5 separate regions of the Homo sapiens genome follow, and regions 2, 3, 4 and 5 are each linked to region 1. Evidence: promoter capture Hi-C in 16 types of primary human blood cells and fetal thymus (Javierre and others, 2016). All regions are on one chromosome and are shown on one strand. Each heading gives the region's core, a stretch centred on a gene start or on the middle of the fragment in contact. The rest is flanking DNA. Distances are from core to core; before and after follow the strand shown.

What was found. The method cuts DNA at HindIII sites, captures the fragments that hold promoters and counts their contacts. A CHiCAGO score of 5 or more calls a contact.
Region 2: a contact is called between a fragment that was not itself captured here and the fragment with the promoter of MRPL36 in region 1, in 1 of 17 cell types (monocytes). The highest score is 6.7, in monocytes.
Region 3: the fragment with the promoter of BRD9 here is called in contact with the fragment with the promoter of MRPL36 in region 1 in 2 of 17 cell types (monocytes and neutrophils); the score reaches 9.2 in monocytes.
Region 4: a contact is called between a fragment that was not itself captured here and the fragment with the promoter of MRPL36 in region 1, in 1 of 17 cell types (monocytes). The highest score is 5.4, in monocytes.
Region 5: a contact is called between a fragment that was not itself captured here and the fragment with the promoter of MRPL36 in region 1, in 1 of 17 cell types (monocytes). The highest score is 12.4, in monocytes.

The regions. Positions count from the first base shown.
Region 1 is chr5:1,797,641-1,801,456 of GRCh38, reverse strand. MRPL36 (mitochondrial ribosomal protein L36) reads left to right here and starts at 1,620. Exons shown (of 2, transcript NM_032479.4): 1 at 1,620-1,665; 2 at 2,510-3,072. The coding sequence starts at 2,522. The coding sequence ends at 2,833. NDUFS6 (NADH:ubiquinone oxidoreductase subunit S6) reads right to left here and starts at 50. Exons shown (of 4, transcript NM_004553.6): 1 at 1-50. The coding sequence starts at 39. RefSeq lists enhancers at 1-241, 421-550, 611-660 and a silencer at 1,741-2,150. The HindIII fragment of the contact is 7,489 bases long and covers 1-3,816 here.
Region 2 is chr5:870,191-874,006 of GRCh38, reverse strand. BRD9 (bromodomain containing 9) reads left to right here. Exons shown (of 16, transcript NM_023924.5): 13 at 2,443-2,481; 14 at 3,432-3,534. Among named protein-coding and RNA genes, the nearest start is that of BRD9, 21 kb to the left of the region's middle. The HindIII fragment of the contact is 353 bases long and covers 1,746-2,098 here.
Region 3 is chr5:891,001-894,816 of GRCh38, reverse strand. BRD9 (bromodomain containing 9) reads left to right here and starts at 2,016. Exons shown (of 16, transcript NM_023924.5): 1 at 2,016-2,211; 2 at 2,963-3,177; 3 at 3,530-3,662. The coding sequence starts at 2,160. TRIP13 (thyroid hormone receptor interactor 13) reads right to left here and starts at 1,933. Exons shown (of 13, transcript NM_004237.4): 1 at 1,727-1,933; 2 at 1-30. The coding sequence starts at 1,818. RefSeq lists silencers at 1,647-2,266, 2,457-2,675 and an enhancer at 2,015-2,647. The HindIII fragment of the contact is 13,625 bases long and covers 1-3,816 here.
Region 4 is chr5:1,114,669-1,118,484 of GRCh38, reverse strand. It overlaps a transcript of SLC12A7 not described here. Among named protein-coding and RNA genes, the nearest start is that of SLC12A7, 4.5 kb to the right of the region's middle. RefSeq lists an enhancer at 536-1,069. The HindIII fragment of the contact is 317 bases long and covers 1,643-1,959 here.
Region 5 is chr5:1,138,191-1,142,006 of GRCh38, reverse strand. It overlaps a transcript of SLC12A7 not described here. Among named protein-coding and RNA genes, the nearest start is that of SLC12A7, 28 kb to the right of the region's middle. RefSeq lists an enhancer at 670-1,513. The HindIII fragment of the contact is 2,556 bases long and covers 394-2,949 here.

The DNA.
Region 1 (3,816 bases), core at 371-2,870:
CCGGTTCAGCAGCCGGCAGAAGGTCATCGCCGCCGCCATTTTGCGCCGCTGGCCTTTGACCCGGCGCAACGTCCCGCTTAGCGCTAACGCATGCGCACGGCTTCTGGCGGCGCCAAACACCCGGTATTTATTTCGCCCTGGGGGCGGGGAGCGCGGGTCGGGGCAGAGGGTGCGCCGGAGCTGCTCTCTGATTCAGGTGGTCACCCGTTTTCATCCCAGGTATCTCGCTAAAAATGCCCCTGATTACACCGAGTACTGTGCGCTTGTTTGACTTTTCATCAATGGCCTAAAAGTTAAGCGGCCCCGTTGCGCCGGCAGGTGCAGCCTCATGCAGTTGCAGCCGCAGGCTAGAGCTAGGGCCCTGATGAGGCAGGCAATGGTGTGCGAAACCTTCAGCGATTAGGAGTACCCAGTGGTTCTTATTTAGCGGACAGGCAGGGGAGGATGTAAACTGAAAATACATTGTTTATATTCTTATGGTAACCGATAATCATGAGACATTTAAATATCAAAATTATTGGGTGAAGGAGTCAACTGCTTAGCAGACGAGACTGGAAGTGCATTCTCCTCGTTCAAGGCAAGCGTTCCTGTGTGTGGTTACGGGGAGCCGCAGAGGAAACGTATATTGGGGATTTCTGCAACAAAGCCTAGTACACCGACTGATTTTACAGCATGCAAATACAGCCTCTAAAAAGGCCCGTTTTGCTTAGAGTTGACTTGGGTATAAATCCCAGCTTAAGCTCCAGCATCCAGCTTTTCTTTTGCTGTGGTCAGAGCCTGAGGACCACGTGACTCCAAGAACAAAACACTAGAGATGGATGAGTGGCGGGGAAGATGATAAAGAGGAGGAAAGGCATGAGAAACAAGAATGCACATGAAAACCTCCGGTCCCAAAGATGTCCCAGCAAACGTGGTGGTCAGAGGCAGATTTGTCCTGGAGCTGATAAACTCCAGCGGCCCGCCCGGTGTTCGCCGGGTCAGGTGGAAAAAGTGGGCGCTGCGATGAAGCGTTGGGGCCTGCAGGGAGCGCGGAGTGGACGCAGCCACGTCTGCAACTCACCCGGACACACACAAAAAGGAAGGCGAATGGAGTTACGGGTAGATACCTGAAAAGGCAGGGATAAGCGAGCTAAGGGTAGAATCTAGGTGGCAAGTATATGGGTGTTCACCGTACAGTTCTTTCCCTTTTTCTCTATGTCCGAAGTTTTTCATAATGTTGGGGAAAACAGCCGTAACCAGTTGAAACTACTGCCCGTCTCCACTCGTTTCCCGGAGCCTGTTTACATTTCTCCTGTCCACTTAAAAACATGTCCTCTTTCTCAGTTTGTTTTGACATTGGTATTTGCCAGTTTTTTCTAAGGCCTAAGTGGTTGTAATTTCTTTTTCGTTGCGGATATCCATTTTCGTTCCTGGTTTTTGCATTTTTTTTCCCGAGAGCGCTCCAAACAGCACGACGATCCCGGTGGCCCGCAGAGTGCGCGCAGTCGGGGAGTGATACGTCGCACTCCAGCGCCTGCGCACTCGCTGCTGCGTCTCTGCGCCCCGCACTGGACGTGGGCACGCCACGTGACCCCCCCCCCCGCCGCCATCTTCCTTCCTGGCAGCAGCGTCCGCGTGCCAGTGCGCAGACGCAGGGGTCGGCGCCGGGTGAGAGCGTGCGGCCGGGTAAGGGAGCCGTCTTCTCAGGTCAGGGGTCCCGGGTGTCTTGAGAGTGGGGGCTGCGAGAGGGTGGGGCCGGCCACCTTGGGACCCTCGGGCGTGTCTCCCCGAGTGGGCTGCGGTCAGAGGAGCGTGGGCCGGGGCCTGGCGGTCTCAGAGGGCCAGGGTTGGGGGGTGCGGGTCCGACCGTGGGCGCCCGACCTGGCGACAGGAGGGGGTGTCCAGCGACCCCGGGGCGGGAGAACTGGCGGCTCCCGAACGCGACCTCACAGCCCGCGCGCAGGGCCGGCTCCGGTGCCGCAGTGTCCTCCGGGCCCTGCAGGCCCAGCTCTTCCCAGCCGGGGCCGCTGAACCCTAAGGGCCGGGGCGCGTGGGGAAGCAGGGGCGGGCGACCGGGGTGCCAGAGTTCCGTGCTCTTCCGGAGCGGGGGCCTGTCCCGAAACTGGCCCGAGGGAGGGCCCCTGGGTCTGGGAAGAGTTGGAGGGAGGAGCTCATCAGTTGAACCGTCCTTGACCTGGTGTCTGTTTGGAAAGGGATGCGGCCTAAGTTTAAGCTCCCTCCCAGCCAAGTGAGCGGCTCCTCAACATCGCAGGGCTTTGCACACTCACCTACACTTGCAGCAGGCGGGAAAGGGAAGGAAGCCACCGTCCACTGCCCCTTATTCTCCTGGCACACTTGGCTGATTAAGGCAGTGTTCAAGCTCAGGTCGAGGCTGCAGCTGGTATGGGAACACCCTCAGTCCCCGAGGTCCCTGCCTTCCCAAGCCTCAGTGAAACAGAGAAAAGGAAGCCTTAAAGAGCAGGTGGAAGTGCAGGAGAAGCTATAACTCCTTTTTTTCTCTCTCCCATAGATTCACCACAACATGGCAAATCTTTTTATAAGGAAAATGGTGAACCCTCTGCTCTATCTCAGTCGTCACACGGTGAAGCCTCGAGCCCTCTCCACATTTCTATTTGGATCCATTCGAGGTGCAGCCCCCGTGGCTGTGGAACCCGGGGCAGCAGTGCGCTCACTTCTCTCACCCGGCCTCCTGCCCCATCTGCTGCCTGCGCTGGGGTTCAAAAACAAGACTGTCCTTAAGAAGCGCTGCAAGGACTGTTACCTGGTGAAGAGGCGGGGTCGGTGGTACGTCTACTGTAAAACCCATCCGAGGCACAAGCAGAGACAGATGTAGACCCTTTCCCTCCAGAGTCACGCACATACTCGTCATCGCATCACTTGGGAGAATGGTTGTATCTTATGGAAGGAATTATCACATCAAGGAGTCAGGGGAAAGTGACTGGAAGCAAACGCCCTAAAAGTTACCCATCACGTTTCAGTGTAAATGAGTAACTATAGAAGACATTGCGTTATCTTATTTCCAAAACGTTCCAACTAAAAAACATTTTCCTATTAAAATAGACCTTCCGAATAGCTTAGTTCATTCATTCTCTCTGAACTCAGGCTGCAGGTAGGGATTGGATGGTGCTGGGTGAGGCTGGGCAGGACTTCTCTATGTCTCCGTGAGGCTGCTTAGAGCCTCTTGGAAGAAGTGGTGTTTTGGTCACCCGTCGCTGTACAAGCCAAGGCTTGGTGGCTTAAATCAGCCATTTTACATTGTTCACGATTTTGTGAGGCATTTGGGATGGGCTCAGCTGAGCAGTTTGTCTGATCTGTGTGGCATTAACTGCAGGACCCACTTCCAAGATGGCACCGGCTCTCCTGTCTGGGGTCTCAGTGCTCCTCAGGCTGTACGTAGCACCTCCTCAGGCAGGGCCCACAGCGTGGCTTGCACTGCCCCACAGTGAGCTTCCCGAGAGTGTCCCGAGAGACCCAAGCAGATGCTACGAGGCTTCCTATGACCCAGCCTCAGAAATTCCAGCGTGTCATTTCTACCGCACTCTTTCAGTCCCTAGGGTGAGCCCAGATTCAGGGGGAGGCAAGGAGCTCCCCTTGCTAGAGGATGACCACACCTACAACTGGTAAGGACTTGGAGGGATGGAGTGGGCTGGTCCTTCCCTGGTCATCGGGATTCATAGTTGAGTGAGCCCCATGCCTTGGGGGAGCACTGTCATCAACATGAATTTGGGGGTGGGGAGCACAGTCCAACCCAGAGCAGATGCTGAGATGCGACAGCCTTCTCACGGCTCCTTTCCTCCTGGCCAGGGACACCTCCCC
Region 2 (3,816 bases), core at 673-3,172, 930 kb after region 1:
TACTTGTGGATAATGGCCGGATCCTACCAGGCTTGTCTGGGGTGGGTCCAGGGCAGCCTTATTCTAGGGTTCGTGTAGCCTTAATGCTAAGGAGTGGCCCTTCGGGGAGCCCTGTCTTTTCAGCGTGGTCTCTGCTGTGGGTGGAGTTCGGATGAGTCTCTGTCCTTCCCAGGCTCTGAGAACGTTTGGCTCATGGCTCCCAAGGAGGGGTCAGTCCCTTGACCTGACGGTTTCATCTGTGCTTGTTACAGATGAACTGGGGTCCACATGCCTGGTGCAGTAAACCCAGACACCCATGCCGAGGTTTTGTCATAGAAAGGACGTGTGTATTTGCAGGGCGCCAAGCAAGGTGGGCCAGGAGGCTCATGTATAAATCCTGGCCTCCCCCACTGGCTACAGGCAAGGCTTGTAAAGCGGGGGTAGATCTCAGGAAAGCAGAACTGAAAGGCAGAGTCGTGCATAAGGACACAGAGGTTACATGTCGGCTTGGCCTAGAAGGGCGGTATCTGCAAGCAGGGCCTTATAGGTTATAGGTGGATTCAAAGGTTTTCTGATTTGCAGCTGGTTAAGGAGGAGAAGCTTTGTTTAAAAATTTGGGGTGAAGAGAAAAGAATGTTAGCTTAGGCTTGTGGGTGTGGCTTCCTCCAGGCCCGTCAGGAAGAAATTCAGAACAAAGAACGGGGTCAGAGCTCAGTCTTCAGTTTCTCCTTATCTGAGCCCTTCATGCCAGTAGATTAGTTTGTTGGGGAGGTCCTAGGTGGAGGGTCCAGGTTTCTGAAAGACAACTCAGGGATATACATTAAGATGTTATCTTTACTTTCTTTCTTTTTTTTTCTTTTTGAGACATAGAGTCTCACTCTGTCACCCAGGCTGGAGTGCAGTGGCGTGATTGTGGCTCACTGCAACCTCTGCCTCCCTGATTCTAGCGATTCTCCTGCCTCAGCCTCCCGAGTAGCTGGGATTACAGGCATGCGCCACCACACCTGGCTAATTTTTGTATTTTTAGTAGAGGCGGAGTTTCGCCATGTTGGCCAGGCTGGTCTTTAACTCCTGACCTCAAATGATGCATCCATCTCAGCCTCCCAGAGTGGTAGGATGTTGTCTTTTCTTTCTACAGGGAACAGTGCTGGGAGGTTGTCTTTACTTTCTACAGGGAACAAACATCTGTCTCCACCTTCCTTGACTGTTGTTTTAGGATACTGTTACCTTCTTGCTTATCAAGTCGCTGATTTACTTCTCAGAGTTATCTAAGTAACTGGAATTTCCCTTGAAGGAACTCAAGATTTTCCTTGATTTCCATGCTTGGAGGGCTCGCAGGCCCCTGAAGAGAGGGTTGCAGCCAGGCGGGAGTCCCCAAGCAGATTTCTGCAGCTCTGAGGAGCAGCCCCCTCTGCAGAGCCTGCCCCACCAGCTCGTGGTTCTGACTCTGAGCTCTGGTCACCCTCCCGTGTCGTGGCCTGCAGGCTCCTTCCAGGCAGGAAGCTGGCCCCCCCAACACAGCGTTAGAATCAGGCATTGCTGTGGGGTAGGGAAAGTGACCCCCTCACAGCCCGGAAATGGGAAGGCTCTGTGGTTTCCTCTCTGGGTTCCAGTTAGATTCCTTTCGGGAAAGTGAACTTGGATATGGAGTTGAGTGACCCCGAGTGCACCCCCGCAGTAAATGATGCTCAGGACTAAAGTGACTGAAGGCTTTTGGGGAAACAGATGCGAACAAAACAGCAGTATTCATTTTCTAATTAAAAGCTTGTGAAAATCGATGTCATTGAATCTGAGAAACATTATTTCGAACAAAGATCACACATGATAGAGTGCATATACTACAGCATCGCTCCACCGGAGCACAGGACGGGTGTGCCACGGAGGCCGACAGTTGTGGAAGGAGACAATGCACGGCCCGGCCCACCTGCTGCAGGCACCGCCAGGAGGTGTCTGCCTCCTTCGCTCCTGCGCCCACGGCAGGCCCACCTGCCACAGGCACTGCCAGGAGGTGTCTGCCTCCTTTGCTCCTGCACACACCTGCCCCTGCAGGACTCGAGCTGGTCTCAGGCAACTGGTCATATTCCAGGTGGAACCCACGAGACCCTTCTTATCCTAAGCTTCCCATAGGATCTAGGCACATCTTTTTTCTTTTGTTTTAAGCCACCCAAGGCTGCCGAAACAGCATCGGCGTCCTCTCTCTGTCCGCTCCATCTCGCCCTGTGGAGCGCTGTCCCCGGCACACAATCCTGGCGCTGAGGAGGGGGCTGGGCGTGGTTGGGTCAGTGACTGGTGATGAAGAAGGTTTGGAGGACCCCCAGCCTTAATCCATTAAGATGGTGTGACTGGGGAGCAGAATTCGCAGAAGCGCACAAGCCATTTTTACGTGTGTGTAATGTCAGCGAATTGTCCGTTTCTATGAAATCACTCTGGAAAAACTAGTTTCTGTCCTCATTTACTTTTCAGAGAAGAAATGTTCCCATGAAGCCTCCAGATGAAGCCAAGGTAAGTTTTTGAACATGGAAGGGCAAGCCAAATATTATTCTCACAGGGAAAGTTGTATCCAGCCTTTGAGGTGGGGAGGTCTGTGTGTATGACGGCGTTTAGAAATGGAGTCCGTTTCTGATCAGTAAGATCAATAGTGTTTCTCCTCCTCTTTTCATGACTTGAGGTGAGTGGTGTGAAGCCGCAGTACATTCTTCCAAATCCAGAAATGGGTAGTTTCAGAGCAGTTGGCCCCGCTGGGTGCTGTCCTTGTGGGACACCCTTGCAAGGGTTGGGCAGGATGGGCCTTCTCAGGACCTGCTTGGTGAGTAGCAGGTGTTGTCCCAAGCACAGTGGGCTCTGGGGCCAGTGCTGGCAGGGCAGTGCTGTGAGCCCAGACTGCTGCACCTGCCGATTGGCAGGTGTGTGTCTCTGACAGTCAGCAGGCATGGGCTTGGGCTTTGGTCCAGGGTCCCTGGGAACCTGGAGAGACCCCTTAACATCTGTTTGAGGGCAGAGGCCGAGCTGCAGGGAGCTGATGAGAGAGTATGTGTTAGGGTGGCTGTAGTCTAGCCCTGAGGACACGCCTTGCTGGGAAAGGAAAGGGAACGTTGTGTGCTCTGTGAAGTGCCTGAGAAATAGTCCTGGACCCTAAAATTCTGTGTGTCTTCCTGTTGCATAATGTCCCTCCCCAATTTCTTTAGCCCCAAAAAGTTAACAAAGGATTGTTAGTTTGCGTTGTTGGTCTCAGTAGGTTTTTCTTTGACATGGATTTGCATATCCATTCATGAGCTCCAACCTGACAGTCCCTTGAACAGCAGCCTCAGTGAACAGGGCTTGGTCTTGTCACTTACTGAGGGGTGGGTTCACGTTTAGCAAATAATTAGAGTGATTTCAATAGCGAGTGTGAAGTAACATTTCGTTTTTCGTTTGATGTTTGAATTGCTCTTGATGTGTGTCTGTCTCCACAGGTTGGGGACACCCTAGGAGACAGCAGCAGCTCTGTTCTGGAGTTCATGTCGATGAAGTCCTATCCCGACGTTTCTGTGGATATCTCCATGCTCAGCTCTCTGGGTGAGTTGTAACAGGCACTTTCCCACAGCACCTGGTGAAGGTGTGATAGAGGAAGAAAACACACGGCCTCCACCTCCTCTCCCTTCCTGACTAGACAGGGATGCCAGGAAAATCTTTTGTTACGGTATTTGGTCTTTGTCCCAGGTTTTTGGACCATAGCTCCTAAAATCCTTGGAATCTCCTGAGTGTTGTGTCTTTTTTAAGCTAATGAGAAGTGGTTGCAGCCCCTGGGTAACCTCAGGATGGGGTCTGGCCGATCCCCAGTGGCTGTGGATTTCATCA
Region 3 (3,816 bases), core at 767-3,266, 910 kb after region 1:
CTCAGGTTTATGTCTTCTTTCTTTGCAGTGCTAAAAAAAGAAGCCAAAACACACATAAATGATCTTAGTTCAAAAACAAAATGTTAAAATGAAGTGTTTTGAAAAACTCAGACAATACATAAGAAAGCCCAGTAGTTAACAGGGTAAGTTGGAGTTGGCCTGCCTGGGACCAAATCTAGAGCCACCCCTTGCCTGTGGGTCCTCTACCAGCTGTGCCCTGAAGAAGCTGTGCCTCAGCTCCCAGTTAGAAAAAGGGGACAACAGTAAGAGTTCTCGCTATGCTGGGCTACTGTGAAGTCATTAATACACTCAAAGTGTTTAGGACGATACCTGGCACATAGTAAGCACGCAATAATGTTGGCTTTCACTATTACTAATGAAGTTCCACAGCTGTGGGGTCAGGCCTGGGGTCTGCATTGTAACAAGTCTCCAATAGCCGTGATTCGTGCTGAGAAAATCTAATGCTTTCAGCTTGGTATCCAGGGCTTCCCTTGGTCCCCCTTGCTGCAGTCCTCCTAACACCTCCCCTTTCTACAACAGTGACCTGGTCCCGGATCACACCTCTGTGCCCTGCTATGCACTGTCCCAGCTTACTGGCCTGATCAACTGCAGTCACCCTCTAAGTCCTATTCAATGTCTGCCTCCCTCTGAGCCCTCCTGGACAGGCTCCTCAGAGCCAGGCAGGTGACATGTGGCCCCTTTGCAATCGTCCCAGCACCCTACAAGCAGCGACCACCATGCATAGTGCGGTTGTGTGCAGGTGTCTATGAACTCTGGTGCAGTTGTACGTAGGTGTCTGTCCTCTAGGTGCAGCTGTGCTCTGGTGTGATTATGCCTAGCGTCTCTGGGCCCAGGTGTGGTTGTACATGGGGTGTCTCTAGGCTGCGGTGGCACTGTGTACAGGTGTCTCTGAGCGCTAAGGTGTTTACACAGGTGTCGCCAGGCTGTGATGGGGCTTTGTGCAGGTGTCTCTGGGCCCTGGTGCAATTATGCTGACGTGTCTGAACTCCAGCACCTAGAAAATACCCAGTCAACAGCTATTCTGTTAAAGGAAAGGTCTCTTCCTCTGCATCCCCTCTGAGGCTGGTGGTCTCACCTGACCTCAATCCACCCTCCGTGGACATAAGGAGGGTCTGTGAAGGTCTGGCCCCGCCGCTGAGTTCCCCCCACTCCAGGGAGCAGCACAGCCCACAGGCCCCACCATACCATGAACTGACTTGGTCACAAATGAGTGGGATGTGCTTTGAACCCTAAAAATTTAACATCGAGTCCGTGAGGAACGGGAACAATTAAAGGGTCTGAGAAGCAGTGGCTCAAAGAATAACCACCCAGCTTTCGGCTGAGACTAGAGCTCTCTGTAATGCGCAGCCATCCTATTCTCCAACGTGGGACTCAGGGCCACATCAATGCACTGGAGGACAGCCGGGGCAGGGGCAGGGTCAGGGCCAGGTCCGTGAGCTGAGGTCGGGTCGGGGCTCAATCTGTGAGCTGGGGTCCTGCGCGCAGGGCTCGGGTCGGCCGGGTCAGTGCCCTGCGGTGGGGTCGCGTCATTGCGCTAGGATCCGGTCGGGGCCCGGCGGCCTGTGCGCCCGGGTCCAGTCGGGCCGGATCAGTACCCTGGGGTTCGGTCGCATCAGAATCAGTGCGCTGGGGTCGGGGCTCGGTGCACGCGCTGGGGTCGGGGCGGGTGGGTGCCCAGAGGATGTGTCGGACAGGTCCGGCTCACCTGCTGCCGCGCTGATGCACCTCCACGTGGACCGTTGGCGACTCGGCCACACAGGGAAGCGCCTGCTTCAGGTCGCCCACGGCCTCGTCCATGGCGCCCCCGAGAGCAGTGGGGACCCAACCAGGGCGCGGCCGCCGCCACCTCACGCCCAGCGTCGCCGCCACAGCCGCTGCCTCAGCCCGCGGGCCCCGCCCTAGCTTCGAATCTGCCGCGCGAGGCGCACCACCTCCTGACCCGGAAGCGCTCGGGCCCGGCAGGGCCACTTCCTGCCGCGGCCCCGCCTCGCCCCGTTTCCGGCGCGGCCCAGCGAGCTCGGCAACCTCGGCGCAGCGAGCGCGGGCGGCCAGCCAGGGCCAGGGGGCGGTGGCGGCCAAGGTCCGACCGGGTGCCAGCTGTTCCCAGCCCCCGCCTCGGGCCCGCCGCCGGCGCCGCCATGGGCAAGAAGCACAAGAAGCACAAGGCCGAGTGGCGCTCGTCCTACGAGGGTGAGGCGGCGGCGCTTTGTGACGCGCGGCGGGCGGGGTCCCGGGCACGGGGGAGGAGTTCCGGGCACGCGGACGGGGGTCCTGGGCACCGGGCGAGGTCCTGGCCACGAGGGAGGGGTTCTGGGCACGCGGGAGGGGGTCCTGGGATTTCGGGCAGGGAACCGGGCACACGTGAGGGGTCCTGGGTAGGCGCTTACGTTCCTGGTAGAGGGTTCTGGGTTCGAGGCTGCAAGCCCACTCACCCCGGTCCTGGAGACTAGGGAAGCATCTGTGCTGGCTTTTGTGTGGAGCTCAGGGAGAAGCTGGGCTGCCCTTTCTCCCGCCTTTCCCTCCCTCTCCCTTGCTCCCGCAGCAGCTCCATGGGTGTCAGCGGGCAGCACGGGCGCCTGCAGGAAGTCAGGCGAGGGTGAACCGAAGTGCTGGGGGTTTCTAGGAGGGAGATCGGGCTCCGGGGTTCCAGGTCCCTCTTAATCCATCTTCTTGAACGAGTAATGTGAACAACATCCCACAGGGCCTCTGGTGAGGACACCGTGGCTCGAAAGGGACCTGAAGCTCCCTGCGGAGGGGAAGGGAGAACAAGGAGGCAGTGACATGCCGCCACTGTGGTCTTCCCTTCCGTCTTTCCCTGCTGGTTGGCAGCCCCGCTGTACTCCTTAGGGAGGCCTTTCCCTCTTAGCACCTTCACGTCTCACCTGGCTGCGTGGCGTTTGCACCTGAGCACGCGGGTAGAACTCGGTCTGTGTCTGTGCAGATTATGCCGACAAGCCCCTGGAGAAGCCTCTAAAGCTAGTCCTGAAGGTCGGAGGAAGTGAAGTGACTGAACTCTCAGGATCCGGCCACGACTCCAGTTACTATGATGACAGGTCAGACCATGAGCGAGAGAGGCACAAAGAAAAGAAAAAGAAGAAGAAGAAGAAGTCCGAGAAGGAGAAGCATCTGGACGATGAGGAAAGAAGGAAGCGAAAGGTAAAGGAGCAGCGGCGGTGGCCCGGACGCTGCCCACGAGGAGCCCGTGGGGAGCCTGGTCCCAGGACCCAGGCAGAGTGCGCCTGCGTGGCTGGAGGAGGGGAGGGGGTGTTCCGTTGGTAGCAAAACGCGAACCGCTGAGGCCCGCAGACTCAGTTCCAGGATCCTGGGTGTGCTGTTCCTCAGCAGACCCTGCCAGGGTCTCTGTGAGGAGGGAGCCTGGCATGAGGAGGATCTCGGAGGGGGTTTCCCTTAGTTCTGTCCCTCCCCTGAGAACTGCGAGGGGATTGGGCAGACCTGTCCGGATCCCGCCTACTCCTGCCTTTCTCACTCCCTTGACTCTGCCGCCCAGGAAGAGAAGAAGCGGAAGCGAGAGAGGGAGCACTGTGACACGGAGGGAGAGGCTGACGACTTTGATCCTGGGAAGAAGGTGGAGGTGGAGCCGCCCCCAGATCGGCCAGTCCGAGCGTGCCGGACACAGCCAGGCAAGGGTGCACTTTTAGAGACTCTCCTGGTGTTCACAGCTCATCGTTGTAAATGAGGGGTCGGCACCGTGTCCTGTTGCTTTGGGGAGAAGCATGGGAGGGAGGAGAGCTGGTATTTCCAGGGCCTCATCCCAGGTGTCCTCTGGCCTGAGGT
Region 4 (3,816 bases), core at 552-3,051, 680 kb after region 1:
CTGGCGCTGCTGCCAGGAAGACTCTTCTGCCGGGTCTGGATGGCTGCCAGGCCTGCCCACGATGTTCTCAGATTGCACTGAAACGTTTCCCAGTGTGGGATCTTCTTATCTCTCTGTTCAAGGGGCTGAGGCCCATGGACTCCCCCTCATGTAACCGCCCAATGGGTTCACCTTGCCTGCTGCCCAGACAGAGCTGATGGATCAAGACAGGGGAATTACAGGGGAGAAAGAATGACTCACGCAGAGCTGGCTGTGCAGGAGACCGGAGTTTTACTGTCACTCAAATCAGGGGAATCGCAATAGGGAAAGAGGGATTCACGCAGAGCTGGCTGTGTGGGAGACCGGAGTTTTATTATTACTGAAATCAGTCTCCCCACACATTTGGGATCAGTTCTTTTTTTCTTTTTTTGAGACAGAGTCTCACTCTATCCCCCAGGCTGGAGTGCAGTGGCGTGCTCTCAGCTCACTGCAAGCTCCGCCTCCCGGGTTCACGCCATTCTCCTGCCTCAGCCTCCCGAGTAGCTGGGACTTCAGGCACCTGCCACCATGACCGGCTAATGTTTTTGTGTGTATTTTTAGTAGAGACGGGGTTTCACCGTGTTAGCCAGGATGGTCTCGATCTCCTGACCTCGTGATCCACCCACCTCAGCCTTCTAAAGTGCTGGGACTACAGGCGTGAGCTACCGCGCCCGGCAGGGATCAGTTTTTAAGGACAGCTTAGTGGGTGAGGAAGCCAGTGAGCCAGGAGTGCTGATTGGTCAGGTCAGAGATGAACTCATAGGGAATTGAAGCTGTCCTTTTGTGCGGAGTCTGTTCCTGGTGGGGGTCACAAGATCAGATGAGCCAGTCTATTGGTCTGAGTGGTGCCAGCTGATCCATCTAGCGCAACAAGGATCCGCAAAACATCTCAAGCATGGATTTTAGGAGCAGTTTAGGGAGGGTCAGAATCTTGTAGCCTCCAGCTGCATGACTCCTAAACCACAATTTCTTTAATCTTGTGGCTAATTTGTTAATCCTACAAAGGCAGTCTAGCCCTCAGGCAAGAAGGAGGTTTATTTTAACTATAAACTAAGTTCCTCCCAAAGTTAGTTCAGCCTACGCCCAGGAAGGAACAAGGACAGCTTGGAGGTCAGAACCAAGATGGAGTCAGGTCGGAACCCTTCCACCAACGGTGATAATTTTGCAAACTTGGCTTCACTAGTTGCTTCGTTGCTCCATCTCGGGCTGGTAGGAACCCCTTCCCTGGCTGCCTCCCCAGCGAAGGCTGCACCCCCACCCCCGCAGGCCAGGCCCAGCTCACCCCAGCCTGCTCAGTGGCCCCTCGCAGTACGCTCCCCACCAGCCCCCCAGCCCATCCCCACGGCTCTGGGGTTTGAGCAGGACCCTCCGCGGCTCTGAGACAGAGCCAGCAAATCCCTGATCTCATGGTGTTGCTGGGGTCGGGGGCGGCATCCATGAGGGTTGGCCTCGTCTTCCAAACCCAGCTCTTTATGACGTCTGAGAGAGGATTGGCCACATCGTGTCCTGGGCTCTGCTTCCATTTCTGAAGGGCTGCGTGTCTGCCAGGTTGGGAGGTTTTGAGCCCATCTGGACCCTGGCATGGCCTTTCCCCCTGAGCCGACAGCAAACATTTGCCCAAGCTTCACGGGAAAGAAGTCACCTGTGGAGCAGGAACGAGAGCTGGCGGGGGGTGGGTGGGCTTCTGGGCAGCTTGGACTTCAGAGGAGATGCGAACCTTCCCTGTGTCTGCAACTCACGGGCGTCCGTGTGAGATTCTGAGTAACATTATGTGAGTTACACTTTGAGAGAAGGAAAGCCACACACGTGGTCTAAAAATCCTGGAGCCTCCTGAGTGAGGGGAAGAGTGTGTCGGACTCATCCACGGAATCTTCCAGAGGGAACTTGAGCGAAGACTCAGTGTCCGTGAATTACAGGACTGAGAGCTTTGTCGCTCAAGCTTGACCTTCTGTTGGCGTCACTTACAGTCTCAGACACAGATGGTCTGAGACGAGCTCTGTGGGAGGGGAGGCCCCTTCTATTCCCAGATTCAGCTCCATGGGATGTACCCCTGCCCAGCAGGCACAGGACCCGGGGGAGGCTCAGAACCCCACGTACCTGGCCACTGTGCAGACAGGCTCCCCAGCGCCAGGCCAGGCCCACCATCCACCAGGCCCAGAGGCCCCGCCCTGGGCAAGCCAGGGATCGGGGCGGGGGGCAGCTTGCGGTGCCTGCCTGGGAAGAGCCTGGCATTGTTTGCAGAACCCTTGGGACAGGGCTGCTTCTTCAGGGGAGATGCAGCCATGGGCCTGGGGCTGTGGCTGGGGTCTTCTGTCATCCCTGCCTACCACAGCTCCCTTCGAGCCCCCACAGGTGGTGGCGGATGTGGGGCTTTAGGGCCACCCTGGCCATGGGCAGAATTCTCGGCCCTGGTGGGACTCCTGGGCAGGGAGAGTGTGGGTCCCACAGGTGGCCGGAGACTCTGCTTCCTCCACTGATGTCCACATACCCCACCCTGCCAGGAGAGGCTCACCACGCTTAAAAAAAAAAAGGTTTGTTTTTTAAAAATCACTTTAGCCTTGGGTAACTGGGGCCTCCCTTCCCTCTCCTCCCTTCCCACCTCTTTCCTTTCCCTCCCCCTTCCCCCGATTCTCCTTCCTCCCCTCTCTCTTCTGCTCTGCCCTATTCGCTCTCTCCCCCACTCACCATGGGTGCTGGGCCAACAGGCAAGAACCTGGGTGGGTGCCCGGCCCTGCCAGGCAGAAGGCGGGTGGCTTTCTGGTGAGAAGGAGTGTGGGGCCTCCAGGGCCGGCCTCCTCCAGGTGTCCCCTTCCCTGGACACGGAGCTCTCCACGGACACTCTGCCTGCCAGCCCCACCTGCATCCTTCAGCCCTGGAGGTGCGCCCTGCCTGATACCCGACAGCAGGTTCCCAGCCCAGAAGGATGCAGATGGCGCACCAGGAGATGAGCCCCCCACCCTAACAGGAAAGCAGAAGTGGACTGGGGGGACCCGCGGACCTGGGGAGAAGCTCCGTGGGCAGAGGCACACAGATACCTGGAGGCAGCCTGCGTCTGGTGAGAGCCCTCCCAGGCCACAGCCCTGATTCCAAGCCGTGGGCACGAGCGGCCTCCTGGCTTGGAAGCTGGCATTGGGTGTCCGTCCTAATCCATTAGAAACTCCACCCCAGGGTGGCAGGCAGCAGGGACTGTTTCGAGAATCTACACACAGAATGTAACCACCATCGGCTACACTTTCGCACTAAATCCCAGGGTTCCCCTGGCTGTGCCCTGCACACGGCCAAGAGGCCATCGCAGATGACCAGGCTCACATCATAAGGATGCGAGATTGCATTTGAAGAGGCCCCCTGGGCAAAGCTGGACACCGATGCTTGGAAAGGGCACTAATGGTGATCGACTGAGACCCACCAATGTGTTTCATCAGCGATGTACAAATATACTTGGGAGATTGTCGGGAACCAATTCACCGTTGTGGAAACTGACAAATGAGGGAGAGGCACCCTTGCCCTGCCTTTCCTGTGGGCACCATTATCCAGATGGCCAGACGGACAAGATGAGCCTCTCCCTCCAGTGAATTCATGACGAAGCCACCACGCACTGGAAAATCACCATTTTGCTCCATGAATCTGTCGATTCAGACATCAAGCACCAACGACTGCGGACGGAGGAGCTACCACCAGACAGTGCGTGGCTCCCTCTGCGAGCCCCCGGCCTTGCCAGGGGACTGGACCCGGATCCCAGCAGTCCCCTGGCTCCAGGTGCCCACTTCCAGGAGACGCAGAGGCCTGCACCGAAAGATG
Region 5 (3,816 bases), core at 422-2,921, 660 kb after region 1:
GCTGCAGGGAAGAGGGGTATCTCTAAGCAACAGCCACAGTTGGTGGCTGGGAGCACTTCAGACTCCACATGACCAGGTCTGATCCTGCCAGCAGCACCCATGATAATGGTGACTTGGGCAAAATGAAAGTTCACTTCTCCCTCACTAAGCATTTTGTTCTGAATTTGTTCATCTGTTGATCTGTCCCGGCGAACCCTCTTGTCTCTGCCTGAGTGTCCAGTGGCCTCTCTGCACCAACGGAGTTATTCCTTGTCCACGCTGTCCTATGCAGCAGCCACCGGCCACATGTGGCTATCGGCACTTGAGCTGTAGCTGCTGTGGCTGAGGACCTGGATTCTTCATTTTTTAAAAAAAATTTTAACTTAAATATAAACTTCAGTGACCACACAAGCTTAGTGGCTGCTGTCCCAGTGAGGTCTGGGTGCTGAGGACACAGTGGGGAAGACAGTCCCCAGGGAGCCTCCATCCCAGGAGATACAGAAAACAAGCCAGGGGAGAGCACAGAGAGGGAGGCAGGGACAGCTGTGGTGCCCGTGGCGGCTCTGGTGCCCATGGCGGCTGTGGTGCCCGTGGCAGCAGGGACGGCTGGGACAGCCAAGTTACAGGCTCAGTGACATCTCTCCATTAGGACTGGGAGAGGACTGGGGGTCCTACTGCCTAGCACTTGAGAATGTGATGGTATTGGGAGGGAGCTGTTTGCAGAGGTCATCAAGTGACAGCTCACAGGGGTGCATCCTAATTCAATATAACGGGTGTCCTTATTAAAAGGGGGAATTTGGACACAGAAATAGACACTCACAGAGCAGGGACGATACAGAGACACAGGGAGAAGCTGGGGCCTGCAAGCCAAGAAGAGGCCGGAACCGGTGCCCGCCTACAGCTCAGGGGAGCAGCCCAGCCACACACTGACCTGGGACTTCAGGCCCGAGGCTTCGAGACGTGTCTGTGGTGTGCACAGCCTGGCTGCACTCATTTCCACAGCGGCCCGAGCGTATTGGTATAAACGTCCCGTGTCCACCCTCCCCCTCAGCCTGGCTGCTCTGAACTGGCCCAGGCCCAGCTTGCCCACCTTGGCTGCAGCCCCCAACGGCTCTGCCTCATGCTGAGCCTCCCAAGGGGTTCCCCTCAGAACATTCTCCCATGGCGTGGTCACCTAGAAGCTACTCCGAGCTGTCATGCCGGTGCAGTGACCACATCCCTCCCCAGCCAGTGCTTGTCAATGGCCCTCCTGGGTGAATCTCCCTTCCCTGCACCCCCTCCGCCAGCCACCTGAGCCCTCCCCGGGGCCCTGGGCTCCGCCCTTGCGCCTCTCGTTGCCTGGTGAGCAGAGCTTTCTTGTCCCACTGGAGTAGAGAGCGTGGAGCCAGCGGTGCGAGTTCCTGAGCACGGGGAACTCCGGGATTGCTGGGCATGCTGGCACCGTCCTGAACCCCATCTCCCTGTTTACAGAATGACGCCTCCCTCCAGGGACAGCTGTGGGGAGGGGAAGCCAGCAGGGAGCACCCCCCCTCACCAGCAGGGGGCACCCACTCACCAGCAGGGAGCACCGCCTCGCTGGAGCTGCACCTGTTTCCTCCTCCCCTGCTTACCAGTGTCTTCCAGACCCGGTGGGGGGGAACAGAACCGAGGGAGATGGAGACGCAGGTGTGGCTGTGTGTGCAGATTGGCGGTCAGGATTCACCCGAGGGGCCATGGGGATCACATGCCTCATCGCCTGGGATGTGCTGGCTGGGGCAGGGCCACCTTTCTCAGGAGGGGGATCTGCCTGGGTTCCCATGGGGCCCTGCTCCCTGCATGCAGGTGGGCCGGGGCTGCAGCGGCTGGTACGAGACAGCCAGCCAGCGATGGGAAACAGCGTTTCTGGGGGGCCTTCTGAGGGCAGGACGGCGCCTCTGGGGTGCTGGTTGAGGCCAAGGCGGTGGTGCCTGGTCACCGACCTCGGAGCGTTTGATGCCCTGAGACCTGGGATGCTCTGGGAGACAGAGGTGCAGGCCGGGCGTGTCCTGACACCTTCCAGCATGTCCCGGCCTGGTCCGCATCTGTGACCACAGAGGTCTTCTTGGCACTTCTTGGGATCAGAGCCCTGAGGCCCATGCATCCGGAAACGCCGTTTGGAGATGTGGAAAGTCCCTTTTGACTCACAAAATCTGCCTTTGTCTCAGCAAGTGTCCCAGAACCGTGGGGACGTAGTGGCCCTAGACTGGGAAGTGGGGCTCGGGAACCAGATTCAGAATTACTCACCTTCCCCAAAGACACGGGGCCTGCCGGGAGGAGGGACGTGGGTCACAAAAGTGGGCCGTGGCCACCCCAGGGTCAAGCAAGCTCGCCGTGTGCACTCGGGGAAGGCAGGCTGTGCGGACGCCTACAGAGGAACATGGGGGCCACTCTGCCTCCTGTTTCCCGGCACCCACACCCGCTAGGGCCACTGCCCAAACAGTTCTCGAGGCAACCTCGGTTCCAGGTTCCGGCATGTGGCACCATTGCTGCTGTGTGGACACCACCCCTCAGAGAAGGCCAAGCCGGCAAGGCCCAGGCAGTGTCAACCGCCCCAGCTCCCAGAACCGCATCTGTCAGGCTGAGCCGCCTCTTGGTTTGGGGCCCAGGGCCCTCGTGAGGATGTAGCTGAGCACCAGCTGCATTTGCCTGGAGTGGTTCCTGCCTTCCAGGGGCTGCTCCCCACCAGGGCTGGGCTTGGGTGCAGGCACTGGGGCCGCACGTCCTGGGGAGATGCTGTTACCAGCGAGGGTCCCCCGCCAGGATCCCAGCCGGCTGCCGTGGAGGCCAAGGGCTCACACTTTCCCCCTTCCTCTTGCCTACGGACCATGAGGACTCAGCAGCCACCTGGTGGGCTACGCCCATGGGGATGAGGAGGGAGCCCAGCTGTGGGGACCATCGGAGGCTCCCAAAGTGCACCTGCTGCCGCCCAGAGCCCCCCCCCCACCCCAAGCTTGGGTGAGGGGCGACCCCTGCAGCTGTTTCAAAGTCAAGACTTCAGCTTGCTCTCCTTTCAGAGGCCTGGGTGGTGGGTGCAGGTCCAAGGCTTCTGGCCAGTGCCCTGGAGTCGAGTATCCCCGGCTCACCTCAGGGCACATGTTAGGACCCAGCATGTGTTAAGGACCTGGTAGAAAGCTGTGTGTTGCAGTTGAACAGACACCCTGGGGCTCCCACTGTGCACACAGGGCTGTGTCGGGCAGTGGGGCTTAGCTTCCTGGGCCTCTCTCTGGAGCCCAAGTCCTTCTAAGTTTGGACCTTGATCCTGTTTTGGTTTCAAGGTTTGTAGTAAACTAAACGGTGGCCTCCAAAGAGCTACATCTATGTCCTGATTCCTGGAACCCGAGAATATGACCTTATTTGGAAAAGAATCTTTGCATGTGGGGTAAAGATCTCCAGCTGAAGTCGCCCCAGTTTATGTGAGCGGGCTCTAAGCCCACTGGCAAATCAGAAACAGACGAGGAGAGAGGCACACAGAGGAGGAGGCCCTATGAGGTTGAGAGGTGAAGCCCGCTGGGCCTCTGGGTAGGGTGGGGACTTGTAGAACTTTTCTGTCTAGCTAAAGGATTGTAAACACACCAATGAGCAGCTCTGTGTGTAGCTAAAGGTTTGTAAATGCACCAATCAGCACTCTGTAAAAATGGAGCAATCAGCACTCTGTAAAATGAACCAATCAGTGTTCTGTAAAATGGACCAATCAGCAGGATGTGGGTGGGGTCAAATAAGGGAATAAAAGCCGCCCTGCCCTGCCCCACCCCGCCGGCAGTGGGTGGTGCCCTGGGGTTCATTTCAATGATGTGGAAGGTTTGTGTTTTTTTCCGCTTT